Regions from separate parts of the Homo sapiens genome. Here all the other regions are linked to region 4. Evidence: promoter capture Hi-C in 16 types of primary human blood cells and fetal thymus (Javierre and others, 2016). All regions are on one chromosome and are shown on one strand. Each heading gives the region's core, a stretch centred on a gene start or on the middle of the fragment in contact. The rest is flanking DNA. Distances are from core to core; before and after follow the strand shown. Region 1 overlaps SNHG33 (small nucleolar RNA host gene 33). Region 2 holds the start of HTR3E (5-hydroxytryptamine receptor 3E). Region 3 holds the start of ABCF3 (ATP binding cassette subfamily F member 3). Region 4 holds the start of YEATS2-AS1 (YEATS2 antisense RNA 1). Region 5 has its middle 31 kb from the start of SNORA63E.

Region 1 (2,700 bases), core at 159-2,658, 360 kb after region 4:
AGGCATGGTGGTGCATGCCTGTAATCCCAGCTACTCGGGAGGCTGAGGCAGGAGAATTGCTTGAACTCGCGAGGCAGAGGTTGCAATGAGCCAAGATTGCACCATTGCACTCCAGCCTAGGCAACAAGAGCAAAACTCTGTCGCAAAAAAAAAAAAAAAAAAAAAAAGAGAATCACACTTTATATCTGTGGTCTTCCTCCCCAAAGCCCCAAATTCAAGTCTAATCCAGAGGAAAACATCAGTCAATTCTAACAGAAAGATATCCTACAAAATACCTGAGTAATACTCCTCCAAACTGTCAAGGTCACCAAAAATACGAAAAATCTGAGAAACTGTCACAGCCTAGAGGGGTCTAAAGAAACATGACAGCAAAATGGAATGTGGTATCCTGGATAAGATTCTGGAACAGAAAAAGCACTTTACATAAAAACTAAGAAAACCTGAATAAATTGTGGACCTTAGTTCATAATAACACATCAATGTTGGTTCATTAATTGTATCACACTGGTCGGGCGAGGTGGCTTACACCTGTAATCCCAACACTTTGGGAGGCCAAGGCAGGTGGATCATGAGGTCAGGAGTTCGAGACCAGCCTGGCCAATATGGTGAAACACTGTCTACTAAAAATACAAAAATTAGCTGGGTGTGATGGTGTGCGCCTGTAGTCCCAGGTGCTCGGGAGGCTGAGGCAGGAGGATCACTTGAACCCGGGAGGTGGAGGTTGCAGTGAGCTGAGATCATGCCACTGCACTCCAGCCTGGGTGACAGAGTAAGACTCCGTCTCAAAAAAAAAAAGAAAAGAAAAAAGAAAAAGAAAAAAATGGTATCATAATAACCATAATATAATTACACCACAAATTTACCATACTAACATAAAATGTTAATAACAGGAATAATAGGGTGCAAGGTATATGGGAACTCTTTGTACTATCTTCTCTGTAAACCTGTAACTTTTTTCTGGAAACCTAAAACCATTTTAAAAATAAAATAAAGTCTATTTTTCGAAAGTCTTAGTATCACCTCTAGATATTCATGTGTAGCAACTTGCTTCATTAGGCTATTTTCCCTCCCATATCCTAAATATCACTGGCTAAAAAAAGGCCTAGGAAAAATCAAAATAGACATTTCCTACATTATTATTCTGTGTTTAAGATGTATAAACAGGGAATAAGCTCTGCATTGACATCTCCAGGGAAGTTGTTCCGATATGTATTCACTGGTTATCATTTACCTTAAAGATAATTATCTTTCCAGTAGGAAACCATGACTTATACACAGCCTTGATCTTAATGAAGCCTATTGCTTTGTTAAAACAAGCTTTACTTCATAGCTAATACAGCAGTGAGCTCTGAAAACAGATAGCATGCAGATATCCCAAATGACAAAGATTCCCAACTAATAACACATCACTGCGGTTTTCATGTTGCACACTGCATTTAAACTTGACAACAGTGAACAGAAAAGGCATGGATCCCAGTCTACCCAGAAAGAAAGCTTCAGTTTGTCAGTCTGTTGAGATACAGTCCTATAAACCATATCTGCAACCCTAGTTTTTGTTTAATTTGAAACAAAAACTCCCTGCATACAGGGACAATAGTTAAAAAGAAGGTTCTGAATGGACAACTTTATACTAAGTCTTAAGTATGATGTTTTATATTTTTATAAAACCCGAAGTATCTGGGAAGTTAGGTCTCCCTGAGGGCAGACCTTAACTAATGACTCGGTAGAGACATAAACACACCAGCCTGCTGGTTCTCTGGTAAGGACGACTCCAGGGATTGACCATGCACACTGACTTAGAGTTAAGCAGCACTGAGCCACCTCCAGGGGAACAGGCTTAGAGCAGCTTGCTCACTGGCCTTCCTTCCCTTTCTATTCTATTTCTCTATTACCCTGTGATTTTTTCCTGGAAACTTTCTAATTATTTGCACAGGAATTCCTGTGTTAGGGTTTCCTTTGGGGCCCTAAGACACATGATATAATAAGTATTTTTAAACGGATGACTCTTATCTTTAAAAGCAGTATAACTTGCTACTTTTTTGACATATTCTTATGTAAAAGATAAAGTCACTTTGCCACTGCTGAATGTAAACAGAGAAAATTGATTTGGAAAAGTTTTAAAATTCAAATTTAAATATGAAAGATCTTCATCCTTTACCCGTGATACGTGCTACAGATATTTTCTCCCAATCCAGTTTTTTTTTTCAGTTGTCTTTTGACTTTATGATGTATTTGCCATGCTATTTGTTTTATGTGGTCAAATTTATCAACTTTTTATTTTATTGCTTATGGTTTTTTGAGTCATAGTTAGAAAGCCTTTTTCTTTTTAGTACTTGTATTGTTTCATTTTTCACATTTAGATCCCTGATCCATTTAGACTTCATTTTTGTTACGCTATAAGGTGTAGATCTAATTTTATCTTTTTCCAAATGGCCAACCAGTTGGCCCAGCTCTGTGTATTACAAAGCCCAACTCTGCTCCAATGATATGTGATAGCACCTTTATCTTTAACTTTCTACCTGCACTTGGGGTTATTTCTGGATTTTCTATTCTATTCTACTTGTCTTTTTATATTATTCACACACTAGTTCCACATCTTAATTATAGAGACTTTGTAACCTCTATAGTCATAAAACCTCTATGACTGCCTTCATAACCTGTATAATACAGTTTTAATTACAGAAACTAAAGACAAACATA
Region 2 (2,700 bases), core at 171-2,670, 290 kb before region 4:
TGCTGGCCTTTAAAGTCACCTCTGGTTCAGTCCTCTCCTGTGCCTCCTTATCCAAAGTCATGGAATAATCTAACGAGGAGAGATGACAGTTATTGGCACTTTTACCAAGTGCCAGACACTGTGCTTCCCTCCTTCTCTTACTGAATCCTCACAACCCTGCAAGGTAGGTTCTGTTTTACAGATGAGGAAACCAGAGCTCAGATAAGTTAAGCAGTGCATCCAAGTTTATAAAACTAGCAACGTGAGACACCAAGATTCAAACCCAGGTCCACCTGTCTCCAAATCCCATGTTCTTGTCTCTCTACCATGCTGACCCCCTGGAAGAGAAGCACATTCTACTTTCACCCTTGACCTGCTGCCTTCTGGCACCTTACCTAACCTAGAGCCCTTGGATCCAGCAGATGGACAGGGAAATTATGGCTAAAGGAGGTGGGCACTTTGCTACAATGGTTTGGGTTTCATACCTGTAGAGAGAAAGAATTACACCTGTGGATAGAAAGATGGATGGATATAGAAGCTAAATACAAGAGAAGACGATCGTGGATGGTTGTCTTCCATGTAGGGTACCAATGGAGAAAAGACAGACTTTTCAAGTAGTATTGGGAAAACTGGATATCCATATGTGAAAGGATAAAGTTTGCTGGTGTTGAACTCTATTTTTCGAGAAGGAAAATGAAAGTGCTCTTGTTTGGCATGTAACTGGAAGGGGATTTTCCGTCTTTCAGAAAAGGAAAGTCTATGTGGGCATCTTAGTAATGTAGCTATGAAAGAACTCTATCCATCTTAGACAATCTCTAGGAGTTGGAAATTTGAAAAAAGTTCCTAGATGTTCTACTAGAGAGAGGTCCTCCTTCTTCCGCCTTCCCCCATCATTGCTCCTTTCTTACCTTGAAGCAGAAAACCGAGAAGGAGGTAGAAGGAAAATCTTTTCCTGTGGAACCAGCTTCCTTCCATCTTCTTTGTCTAAGTTCTTCTCTGAACATGTACTGGGACCCAGGAATGCCCAGATTAAAGCAGCACAGGCCACACCTAGAGTCTGACTTTGAATACTAATAGCATTGGTTGACCACTGACATTTGTAACCTTCCTTCAAAGAGTGTTCTGGTTGTCTTGTTCTTGCCTATGCTTAAGGTTCAGTCTGCTTTTAAGACTTTATCTTAGTCTTAGGTATTTCACTGCAACGTAAATGGTTATAGATAGTTCATACGTGATCAACTTGCAGATCTTGGTGAGATCCCTTGGTCTGAAGACTCATCTCTTCAATTTTGGAAAATTCTCAGACATTTATAAATGTTTCACTTCCTCTATTTTTCTTATTAGACATGTGTTGAATGGTTTCCTTCTATCTTACATGCCTTTTATTGCTGTTGTAACAAATCACAAACCCAGTGGCTTAAATAAACACAATTTGTTATTTTACTGTTCTGTGGGCCAGAAGTTTGAAATGGGTCTCACTGGGCTAAAATGAATGTGTCAGCAGGACCGCATTCCCTCTGGAGGCTCTAGAGGAGAATCCATTTCCTTGCCTTTTCCAGATTTTTTTTTTTTTGAGACAGGGTTTCACTCTGTTGACCAGGCTGGAGTGCAGTGGCGCAATCGCGACTCACTGCAGCCTTGACCTCCTGGGCTCAAGGGATCTTTCCGTCTCAGCCTCCCAAGTAGCTGGGACCTCACAGGTGTGAGCCACCAAGCTTGGCTATTTTTTTTTTTTTTAGTAGAAATGAGGTCTCGCTTTGTTGCCTAGGCTTGTCTCCAACTCCTGGCCTCAAGTGATCCTCCAACCTTGATCTCCCAAAGTGCTGGGATTATAGACATGAGCCATTGTACCCGGCCTTTTCCAGCTTTTAAACTGCCTGTATTTCTTGGTTCATTATTTTTACTTCTCCATCTTCAAAACCAGCAACATCAGGCCAATGTTTCTCACAAGGCATCTCATCTCTCTGGTTCTTATTTGTTTCTCTCTCCTTCTTCCACTTATAAGAGCCTTTGTGATTGCATTGTGTCCATTTGGATAATCCAGGATAGTCTCCCCATCTCAAAGTCCGATAATTAACAACCTTAATTCCATCTGCAACCTTAACTCCCCTTTTCCATATAACCTAAGGTTCCAGAGATTAGGATGTGGACAAATTCTGGGGGCCGTTATTCTGCCTAGCACACCTCTCTTTCCTATTTTCTACCTCTTTATCTCTGTCCCTAATGATTTCTTCAGATCTAGCTTCCAGGAAAAAAATTCTCTCCTCAACTGTGTTTATTTTAATTAATTAATTAATTAATTTTTGATGAAACTCAGTAATTTTTATTGCAACTGGAAGACAATACATTGCAGAAACTTTATGGTAGGTCTGGGGAAAAGTGTTATTTACAATAGATTATGACATAATTTGTCTTTGACAATATGATTACATACGAAGAATGCAAAATGCAAGTATGGATGCCTTCCATATTTTATTTTATTTTGAGATGGAGTCTCATTCTGTTGCCCAGGCTAGAGTGCAGTGGCGTGATCTTGGCTCACTACAGCCTCCACCTCCTTGATTTGAGCGATTCTCCTGTCTCAGCCTCCTGAGTAGTTGGGACTACAGGCTTGTGCCACCACACCCAGCTAATTTTTGTATTTTTATTAGAGACAGGGTTTCACCATGTTGTCCAGGCTGGTCTTGAACTCCTCACCTCAGCTGATCTGCCCACCTCGGCCTT
Region 3 (2,700 bases), core at 141-2,640, 380 kb before region 4:
AAACCCTCTTAACTTACCCATGATGAACAGACTCAAAGGCTCAGGAAAAGACATAGTCAGAAATCCCCCCAAAAGATACTCCAATTAGACAGTCAACTCCCAACCCCATCACAGACAGTCCCCTCCCTTGCTTCCTCCTCCTCACCGAGGACTGTTCCCTCTTTAGCAGTCCTGGAAGTTTGGTTCCACAGTCTGTAAGCGATAAGAAAAGCAGTCACCTTCTCCCTGAGGGAAGGGAAACTAACATTTTGAGTGACTAATAGGAACCAGGCACAGACACAGATGTTTTCTACAAAACCTTATAATACTGCAGATAGATGGCTATTATCTTCCCTGCACTAAAAACAAAACAAAACAAAACAAAACAAAACTCACGTAGAAGGATACAGAGGCATAGACAAGGCTGGGGACAGATAACCAACTCTTACAAGATCATGCAGCTGGTTAGCAAGTTGCAAAACTGGGGGTGAAAGCAAGTCTGTCCAGCTCCAGGCTCTTATGCTTCCTATCCTACCCAAGAGCTTGGAGGGAGAACCCTCCAACCTCCTCCCCACCCCCATCATGGGCTCTTCTGCCCTCGGTAAAGACATCAACTAGCTCCTACAACCTTGTCCTGTGGAAAAGACGTAGGAGCCCTAAGCTGCAGGCAGCAGATGGTTGGGGGCGGAGAAAAGCACAGGGGGGCAGTTAGTTCAACCTCCCCTCACTCTCACCGTAGTTCTCCGTTATCTTTGACAACTGGATAGGGGCGTCCAGTAGCACCTGGCTATTTCCCTGGCTTTGTGGCTCAGCCCTATGTGGGTAGGGATAGAAAGCGCAGAGTTAGGAGTTGAGGGAAAAGCTCTATGGCCATCAGATCTTCCTCCCCCACCTCTTGTCTCCGGACCGTTCGCCGTCCCTTCGCCCCCATCAACCCCTACTCCCTGGCACATACAGACGCAGAGTGTTGTACATGCGCTGGCACACGGCCCTGATGCCCGCGTCATCCTTGCTGTCCCCGGACACCTCTTGCAATAGTTCCCCTACAGCTTCCACCAGGTCATCCACAGACTCGAAGTCCGCGCTGCCGCTGTGCAAGACGCCTGGGCAGGGCGTGGTAGAACGAGGAAGGTATCGGGTAGGGTGGACACACAAGCAGTTTCAGACCCCAGACAGAGGCCCCAGTCCAGGCTCCAGACCCAACCAGCCCCCGGGACAAGAGGTCATGCAGAGGAGAGGCCTGGCAACAGTCCCGGGCACGACGCTCGCTTAGACTTTCCCCCGGCCTCCACTTCGGTCTCCCCAGCCGGCCGATTCAGTTCTGCTTACCGGTCACGTAGTCGAAGACTTGTCCGTCAATTTCGGGGAACTCGCTCCGCAGGATTTCGGCGCAAGTCGCCATGTTCCACTCAGGAACCCGTCCGCGCAGTCGCTGTGAGACCCCGGCCTAGGCCCGCCCCCCGCCCTGCCCCCGAAATCTCGCCCTTCCTTGCAAGGCGCATGTGTAGCGGTGACGCAGGAAAGGAGCGGAGTGCGCAGAGCCCGGTGGGCGGGGCGAGCGGGGCCTTGAGGAGAGGCGCCGAGTCTGCGCCGGAGCCGCGCTCTCTGCGCGTGCGCGACACCTTTTCCGCTGAAAGATTAGCCACATGTGCGGTTCTCGCTGCCTTCTGGGAGGTGGAGTTCCGGGAGCGAGGGGTGGGGCAAAGGCTGGGAGCTCAAGGTTTATCGGGGCCGCGAGGCACCCGTGGTCTGGCGGGTGGGAGCCTCCCAAGAGGCAGGCGGCTGATAAAGCACTTTGGCTTTGCCAGGTTTTATGCGCTCCCTCGAGGCGCGTCTGCTGCTGGTGCGTACCCAGTCAGGCCCATTTTGGAGCCTGCCCAGAGCTTTGCTGACTCACCCCGGTCCCTGACTCTCAGAAGCCCCCTGCTCAGTGCTTTGCTTTCGCGGGTCCCCAGACCCTACGGGCTTCTCAGCCTGGTGGCCAGCGCCACCCGCCTCCCCGCCGCGACCGCCTTTTCACTGTGTAATTCAGCCGACCTTTGTGAATTAAGCCCATTCAGTTCTTCCACCACCCCAGGGCACGACCAAATCCACCGCCAAAGGGCAAGAAAACCAGGACAACGTGGCCTGTATAAATTATTCCCTACCTACACCCTGAGCAGACTTCTCTGCACTCAATAAATGCCAATAAAAGGCTATTTCCTTTCACCGATTCCCTCGGGAAGTTAGGAATTTCCTCCAAAATGATGCTACTGCTTTATATTTAACGTGAATATTCCTCCAATTGGTCTCTAAAAGTGGCACCGAAAATTACATTATTACCCATTCATCCCTTTGGATTAAACATTGCCATCATGAGGCATCAATCCCGATATTGAACCATTTTACAGGAAATACAGGTAAAGAGGAATATGTTAAGTGACTTCATGGGGACAACAGGCAAATTCTGATGTGGTAAACTACAGAACTCTGGTTTCTTCCACAAAATTGCAAGACCTGAAGGGAAACATCAATTTTTAAAATTTGAGGAGCATTAACCAACCACAATGGACCTTATCTGGAAAAATTTGATAAGACACCTGGTTAAGTGAACACAAACTGGATGTGATATTAAGGAACTGGCCACGCATTGATCATAGTTGAAGCTGGGTGATGAGACATGGAGATTCATTATATTCTTTTTTTTTTTTTTTTTAATTTGAGAAGGAGTTTCGCTCTTGT
Region 4 (2,700 bases), core at 43-2,542:
GTGTTAGGAAGTCTGAGATGGGGCGCCTCCAATAGACCCGGGCACCTGGCAGCGCCACCTTCTCCTGCCTGCCACTCCCTCCCATCGAGGGGGCCTCTGCTTGTGGACACAGACTAATCTCACTGCTTCTGGGCACTGGCATCCTTATTTCTGGGCATGGGCAGTTACTTCTCCAACTTTAAGGCACTCACTGGTATTTCTTTTAAATACTTTTCTTCTTGGGAAAAACTCCTTAACAGAGAAGAGTATATACAATCCACGGATAGGACAGACGACCCCAGAAGAGCCTGCCGGGCGCCGCTCCCCACTGGCCACTCAGCATGGGGTCAGCAGCAGAAGCTCCTGCAGGCCATGCAGATGGCGTGGAACCTGCGATCTGCTTCGCACACATGTGTAACGCTGCTACACTTCTGCCAAGTGTCTGGGACTGGTGCACACAGTCTATTCCTAGCATAGTGAGTTTTCTTGGTTATAATCAAACCTCTTCCTGACTCCTGTTGGGACCTCTCCGTCCCTTGCCACTGCTTTGACAATGGTTCTAGTAATGCTCTCGTGCTCAAAAAAGGAATTCTGCTCAGTCTGCCGTCTCTCAGGCCTTCATGGTTCTTGGCTCTAGGTATGGCCTCTTCCTATAGCTGACTCACTTGGGCTCAGAGTACAGCCCCTCCACACCAAGGCCAGGCATGGGAGAGAACCACCTGCTGAAGGCTGAAGCCCAATCTCTCTTCAGGGTAACTGCTGGAGCTACTGGTAACTCCAGCCCACAAAATGGGTGAAATCTCTAGCCTGCCACTCATTTTCTACCTCCTGGGGAGGCGGGCCCAAGGAGCCCCCTTAAGCACACCCAGGGAGAAGGGCCTGAGGCACACGGCCTGGCCCGCTCTCGTGGGGCCTTTACAAAGACTGCAGAAACGCTGGCCGACAAAGCACGGATCCACTGACAGCCTCACTCCACACTCAGGAAACAAACTCCTGTCCTAGGAGGATTTCATCTGGAGTGCAGCGTGCTGGTGACACGTGGGAACAGGCAGCGGCAAAGGTTGGGTAGCCATGACATGCCGAGTCACACTGGAAACCACCTCCTTCCCGAGCAGCAGGGTCCTCAGTTACAGCTTCGCTGTGCCTTCAAAGCCTGCTTCTCCAGGGCACCTCACTCCGCTCACTGGTCCTCATTCAATATTCCCATGTGTTTGTTTGTGAGGAAGTCCAGAAAAGGAATGTTGCAAATGGCCTGGTGAATATTACTCACTGTAATTTCTTTGGGAATCCTGGTCCAAAAAACAAAGGGTGTTACCAGGTGAAATTCTCTCACGTATATCTCATCATTTATTCACTTAACTCATCACAGGGACCATCCCAGGCAGAGGCCCCGTGGAGAGGGCTCCTGAGCCACAGACATAGCTTAGGGCCACTCTGGGGTGAGGACTGCCTTCCTGTCATAGGCATGAGAAGGATGTCAACAAGTTGGTTGAATAATTAGGAAAAAAGATTCTGAGAACTGAGAAAAGAGAAAGAAAACAAAGCGGATGGCAGAACGGAATGACACATTTGTGAGTGAGTCTCAGCAGACCGAAAGCTGAGTCAAAGCACCACAAAACTCTGGGACCTTATTTCCCATCTCCTAGAAAGACGGGAGACGGAGCCACGCCAGGCCAGGCGTGATGTTAATCGTTCCATCAAAAGCACCTAAGTCACTCTACCCCTCCAGGACAGGGAGCACAGAGGTAAGCAGGGGCCACAGGAGGCCCTGGCTCACTTGTGGGTCCAAGCAGGACAGTGGGCAGCAGGACCGGAACTCTTGGTTCCCCTTCCTTTTCTCTAAAGACGCCTATGTTGTCTGATATATTCCTGTGAAGTTTCATCTACTATTCCTCTGATTTAGGCCCTTCATGTCCTCAGGCACTTTGCTACAATTTTATAAATCTGTGACAGCCTTTAGCATAATGCAATAAAATAATATTTGTTTCCTCCGAAAGAAAAGCAGATGTGGCCTATCTACCATCCTTTCAGGGCCTAGGAACAGACTGAAACTCAGTGTCTTAATCAAAGACAACGAGTCAGCAAAGAGCAGTGGCGAGCCCAGGGGCCTCAGAGCCAATGAGACCTGAGTCGGAAGTCCAGGTCTACACTGTATTTGCTGGGTAAGCTGGGTAAAATTACCTTTCAAAGCCCGGTTTCCTGATTTTTAAAAAGAGAATAATAGTTCTGCAATGAAAAACAAATTAGGTAATATATGCAACGCTTGGCCCTCGTGTCTGACATGTAATGGACACTGTTATCTTTAATTGCAAAGCTAATATTTATTCAACCCTGTAATAAAACAGAGTCCTAGGTGTCTGTGAAGTAATGAGGAGGATATAAACCTCTGAGCAAAGCTGAGTGAGCTTTCACAACCATGAGGTTCTCTAAAAATGACAAAGCAGACCCTTGAGCTCATCTGGCTCTAAGAGTGTCCTAAGCACTCACTCCATCTCCTACTGGATTGATGTAAGTATAAAACACCTTCATGGGCAATTCAACTGTTAGGAAAGAGGTGTAAGCCTCACACCACAGACTGCAGAGATAGTAATACCTGTTGTGAGAAGCTGTCTGGTATCCAACTGCCAAAGCCTGTCTCAGGATATCATTCACCAGCTGTTCTGTAGCCTACAATGGAAGATGCTGTTATTCTTCAAATGGCCATCTGCTTGCTGGCAAGAA
Region 5 (2,700 bases), core at 99-2,598, 330 kb after region 4:
TGCCTTATGTTCCGTTCCTGCATGTGGCCACAGTTGAAAACTCTTTGGTGCTGGGGATGAATCCAGGTCCAGTCCCACCCTCCCCAGTCTCCCCACCATTGGCCTGGCTGCTTACCAGTCACTCTGTTTTTCACTTCCATGTTTGTTTACTGGCACCTGGGGATTTTCCTTTTCTCTTTGCACATTCAGATGTCTGCTTTGTTATTGATTCCCACATGAAACGCTGCCTTGAAACCCATGCCCAACCATCTCTACTCATCTGCCTGGATAGAGAATATGAGACTTCCTGCTTATAAATTCTTTGGGAAAGTTAAAGCTGGGTAGAGGGAAAAGGGGGTGGCCTTTGATGTGTAAGACAACTGGAAATCTCCCTTTGTAACACGAATCCTGGTTCCTCCACGTTTGGCAGTGGAAGGAGAAGCTCCCAGTGGGCACGGAAATTTGGACCTCATAGCCCCAACTCTTCCCTGTAAGGAAAGAGTCCCATACACAACTCTTCATTTAATTTCCTAAGGAACATCAAAGACCAGACTGGAACAGTTAAAACTTTACTTATAACTTAAACATAGGAAGGGAAGATACTCTAGATTATGAGGATGACAAGAATCAGCTATCTCTGAGAAGCAATGTTTGTCTTGAGAAGAAGTGTGTGTGTGTGCGCGTGTGCATGTGTACGTATATGGTTTAAAAATAAAAATAAACAAGCTGGACATTAGTTAAAGCAGTGAAAACAAATTTTATTCAGTAACTGCTGACAGTAGCGGAAAGAGCTGAGCTCTATTCTGATTTGTGCAGAGATGCTGACTGGGCCTTTTAAAGGGAGAATAAGGGAGGCAGGAGGTGGAGCGAGCAGGTTCAGGTAGAGTCAGGGAAGTGAAAAATGACAAAGTGTTGGGCAGAGTCAATATGATGAGACCAGCTGTGTCTGCTAGCTGGCAGTTCTCGAAGCTAGGATCCTCTCTCCTTCCTGATAATTACCTTGAGGGGAATGGCTTTCAGGTCCTTGAGAAAGACACCCCTGAGCTGTAGGCAACACATACATAGTAGCTCAGAGCAACAGAGGAAGGATTCACAATGGTAAGCCTCCTTTTTTTAGTAAATGCTCTAAAAAAGCAAGATCAGGGGCCTGTTGTCAGATGTTGGTGGAACAAACTCAATTCTTTTGACAGCCTTAAGCTTTCCCAGACAGCAACTCAAAAGGGGGCTGGGCCATCCCAGGGACGTGGCCTCAGGCTGCTAGAAGCCATGCGATGGTTTGGTGAAGTCTCTGAGCGCAGGGTATGAGTGGAGTGTTGGTACTGAGAGTTTCAGTGTCCCAGGTATACTTACCTTATGAAACAGATACAGTTAAAAGAACAGGTGTGCCCACCACCTGCGCTGCTGTTGGCAGCATTTTAAAAGAGAACTGACCATTTTCTACAATCCACCACAGGCCCACTGTGCGAGGCCAGGAGTGCCGAAGCCCCTTCTTCTAGAATCTGCTGAAGGCAACTAAAGAGAAAAATAGTACTAAAGCTTCTTTGACCCATACAGGCCAGAGCAGTGCTTTCAAACTTTCTTGAACATGTATCACAATAAGAAACACATTTTCTGTATTTCCTATTCTATTTTTTTCTTAAAATGCTGTTCACAAGCCACCAAATTAATTTCATCACCCACTAAATGGGTCACAGGTCACAACCCATATCTGAAAGGTACAAGGCTGGAGGGCACTGACCTGGGCAGACAGGGCAGGGGTGAGGGGAGATGAGGGTGGCAAAGCCTGGTGTATTAGTCCATTTTCATATGCTGTGAAGAAATACCCGAGACTAGGTAATTTATAAAGGAAAGAGGTTTAATGGACTCACAGTTCCACATGGCTGGGGAGGCCTCACAATCATGGCAGGAGGTGAAGGAGGAACAAAGACATGTCTTACATGGCAGCAGGAAGGAGTGCCTGTGCAGGGGAACTGCCCTTTATAAAACCATCAGATCTTGTGAGACTTACTCACTATCACGAGAACAGCACGGGAAAAACCTACCCCCATTATTCAATTACCTCCCACCAGGTCTCTCCCATGACACCTGAGGATTATGGAGCCACAATTCAAGATGAGATTTGGGTGGGGACACAGCCAAACCATATCATCTTGATTTAACAAAGCGGCAATACACAGAAGGCAGAGGGAAAACCTGACTGCGCAGAGAAATCTGTAAGTCTGGCCTTAGATAAACAGGATTTTTGTTGGTGAAATTCTGTTCTTTGTTTTTTTGTTAGTTTGTTTGTTTTGTTGAGTTTTTTGAGGTTTTTTTTTGAGTTTTTTGAGTTTTTTTGTTAGTTTGTTTTTTTGAGTTTGTTTGTTTTTTTCTGTCGCCCAGGCCGGAATGCAATGGTGAGATCTCAGCTCACTGCAACCTCCACCTCCTGGATTCAAGCAATTCTCCTACCTCGGCCTCCTGAGTAGCGGGGATTACAGGCACCTGCCACTACGCCCAGCTAATTTTTGTATTTTTAGTAGAGACAGGGTTTTGCCATGTTGGTCAGGCTGGTCTCGAACTCCTGGCCTCAGGTGATCCGCCTCCGCCTGCCTTGGCCTCCCAAAGTGCTGGGATTACAGACATGAGCCACTATGCCTGGCCGAAATTCTATTCTTTCATAGTAAAAATGTAGTAATAGGAGCATCTATTGAGTAATTTCCCTGAAACATGAGACCAAGCCAG

What was found. Contacts are between HindIII fragments. The CHiCAGO score rates a contact against its expected background, and 5 or more counts as called.
Region 1: a contact is called between a fragment that was not itself captured here and the fragment with the promoter of YEATS2-AS1 in region 4, in 13 of 17 cell types (megakaryocytes, naive B cells, M1 macrophages and 10 more). The highest score is 11.1, in megakaryocytes.
Region 2: a contact is called between the fragment with the promoter of HTR3E here and the fragment with the promoter of YEATS2-AS1 in region 4, in 4 of 17 cell types (M0 macrophages, M1 macrophages, monocytes and 1 more). The highest score is 7.8, in M0 macrophages.
Region 3: a contact is called between the fragment with the promoter of ABCF3 here and the fragment with the promoter of YEATS2-AS1 in region 4, in 11 of 17 cell types (M1 macrophages, erythroblasts, M0 macrophages and 8 more). The highest score is 11.6, in M1 macrophages.
Region 5: a contact is called between a fragment that was not itself captured here and the fragment with the promoter of YEATS2-AS1 in region 4, in 1 of 17 cell types (erythroblasts). The highest score is 5.5, in erythroblasts.

The regions. Positions count from the first base shown.
Region 1 is chr3:183,448,698-183,451,397 of GRCh38, reverse strand. All of the region lies in intron 1 of SNHG33 (small nucleolar RNA host gene 33), which reads right to left. Among named protein-coding and RNA genes, the nearest start is that of SNORA63D, 1.8 kb to the left of the region's middle. The HindIII fragment of the contact is 177 bases long and covers 1,320-1,496 here.
Region 2 is chr3:184,095,784-184,098,483 of GRCh38, reverse strand. HTR3E (5-hydroxytryptamine receptor 3E) reads right to left here and starts at 1,420. Exons shown (of 9, transcript NM_001256613.2): 1 at 888-1,420. The coding sequence starts at 954. All of the region lies in intron 2 of HTR3E-AS1 (HTR3E antisense RNA 1), which reads left to right. The HindIII fragment of the contact is 4,461 bases long and covers 1-1,693 here.
Region 3 is chr3:184,184,889-184,187,588 of GRCh38, reverse strand. ABCF3 (ATP binding cassette subfamily F member 3) reads right to left here and starts at 1,390. Exons shown (of 21, transcript NM_018358.3): 1 at 1,309-1,390; 2 at 935-1,082; 3 at 714-793; 4 at 146-192. The coding sequence starts at 1,381. RefSeq lists enhancers at 1,086-1,405, 1,883-2,597. The HindIII fragment of the contact is 6,180 bases long and covers 1-2,700 here.
Region 4 is chr3:183,809,043-183,811,742 of GRCh38, reverse strand. It overlaps YEATS2-AS1 (YEATS2 antisense RNA 1), which reads left to right and starts at 1,292. Exons shown (of 3, transcript NR_046727.1): 1 at 1,292-1,724. YEATS2 (YEATS domain containing 2) reads right to left here. Exons shown (of 31, transcript NM_018023.5): 30 at 2,573-2,646; 31 at 1-1,268. The coding sequence ends at 1,160. RefSeq lists an enhancer at 910-2,109. The HindIII fragment of the contact is 7,253 bases long and covers 1-2,700 here.
Region 5 is chr3:183,483,891-183,486,590 of GRCh38, reverse strand. No RefSeq gene overlaps it. Among named protein-coding and RNA genes, the nearest start is that of SNORA63E, 31 kb to the right of the region's middle. The HindIII fragment of the contact is 339 bases long and covers 1,179-1,517 here.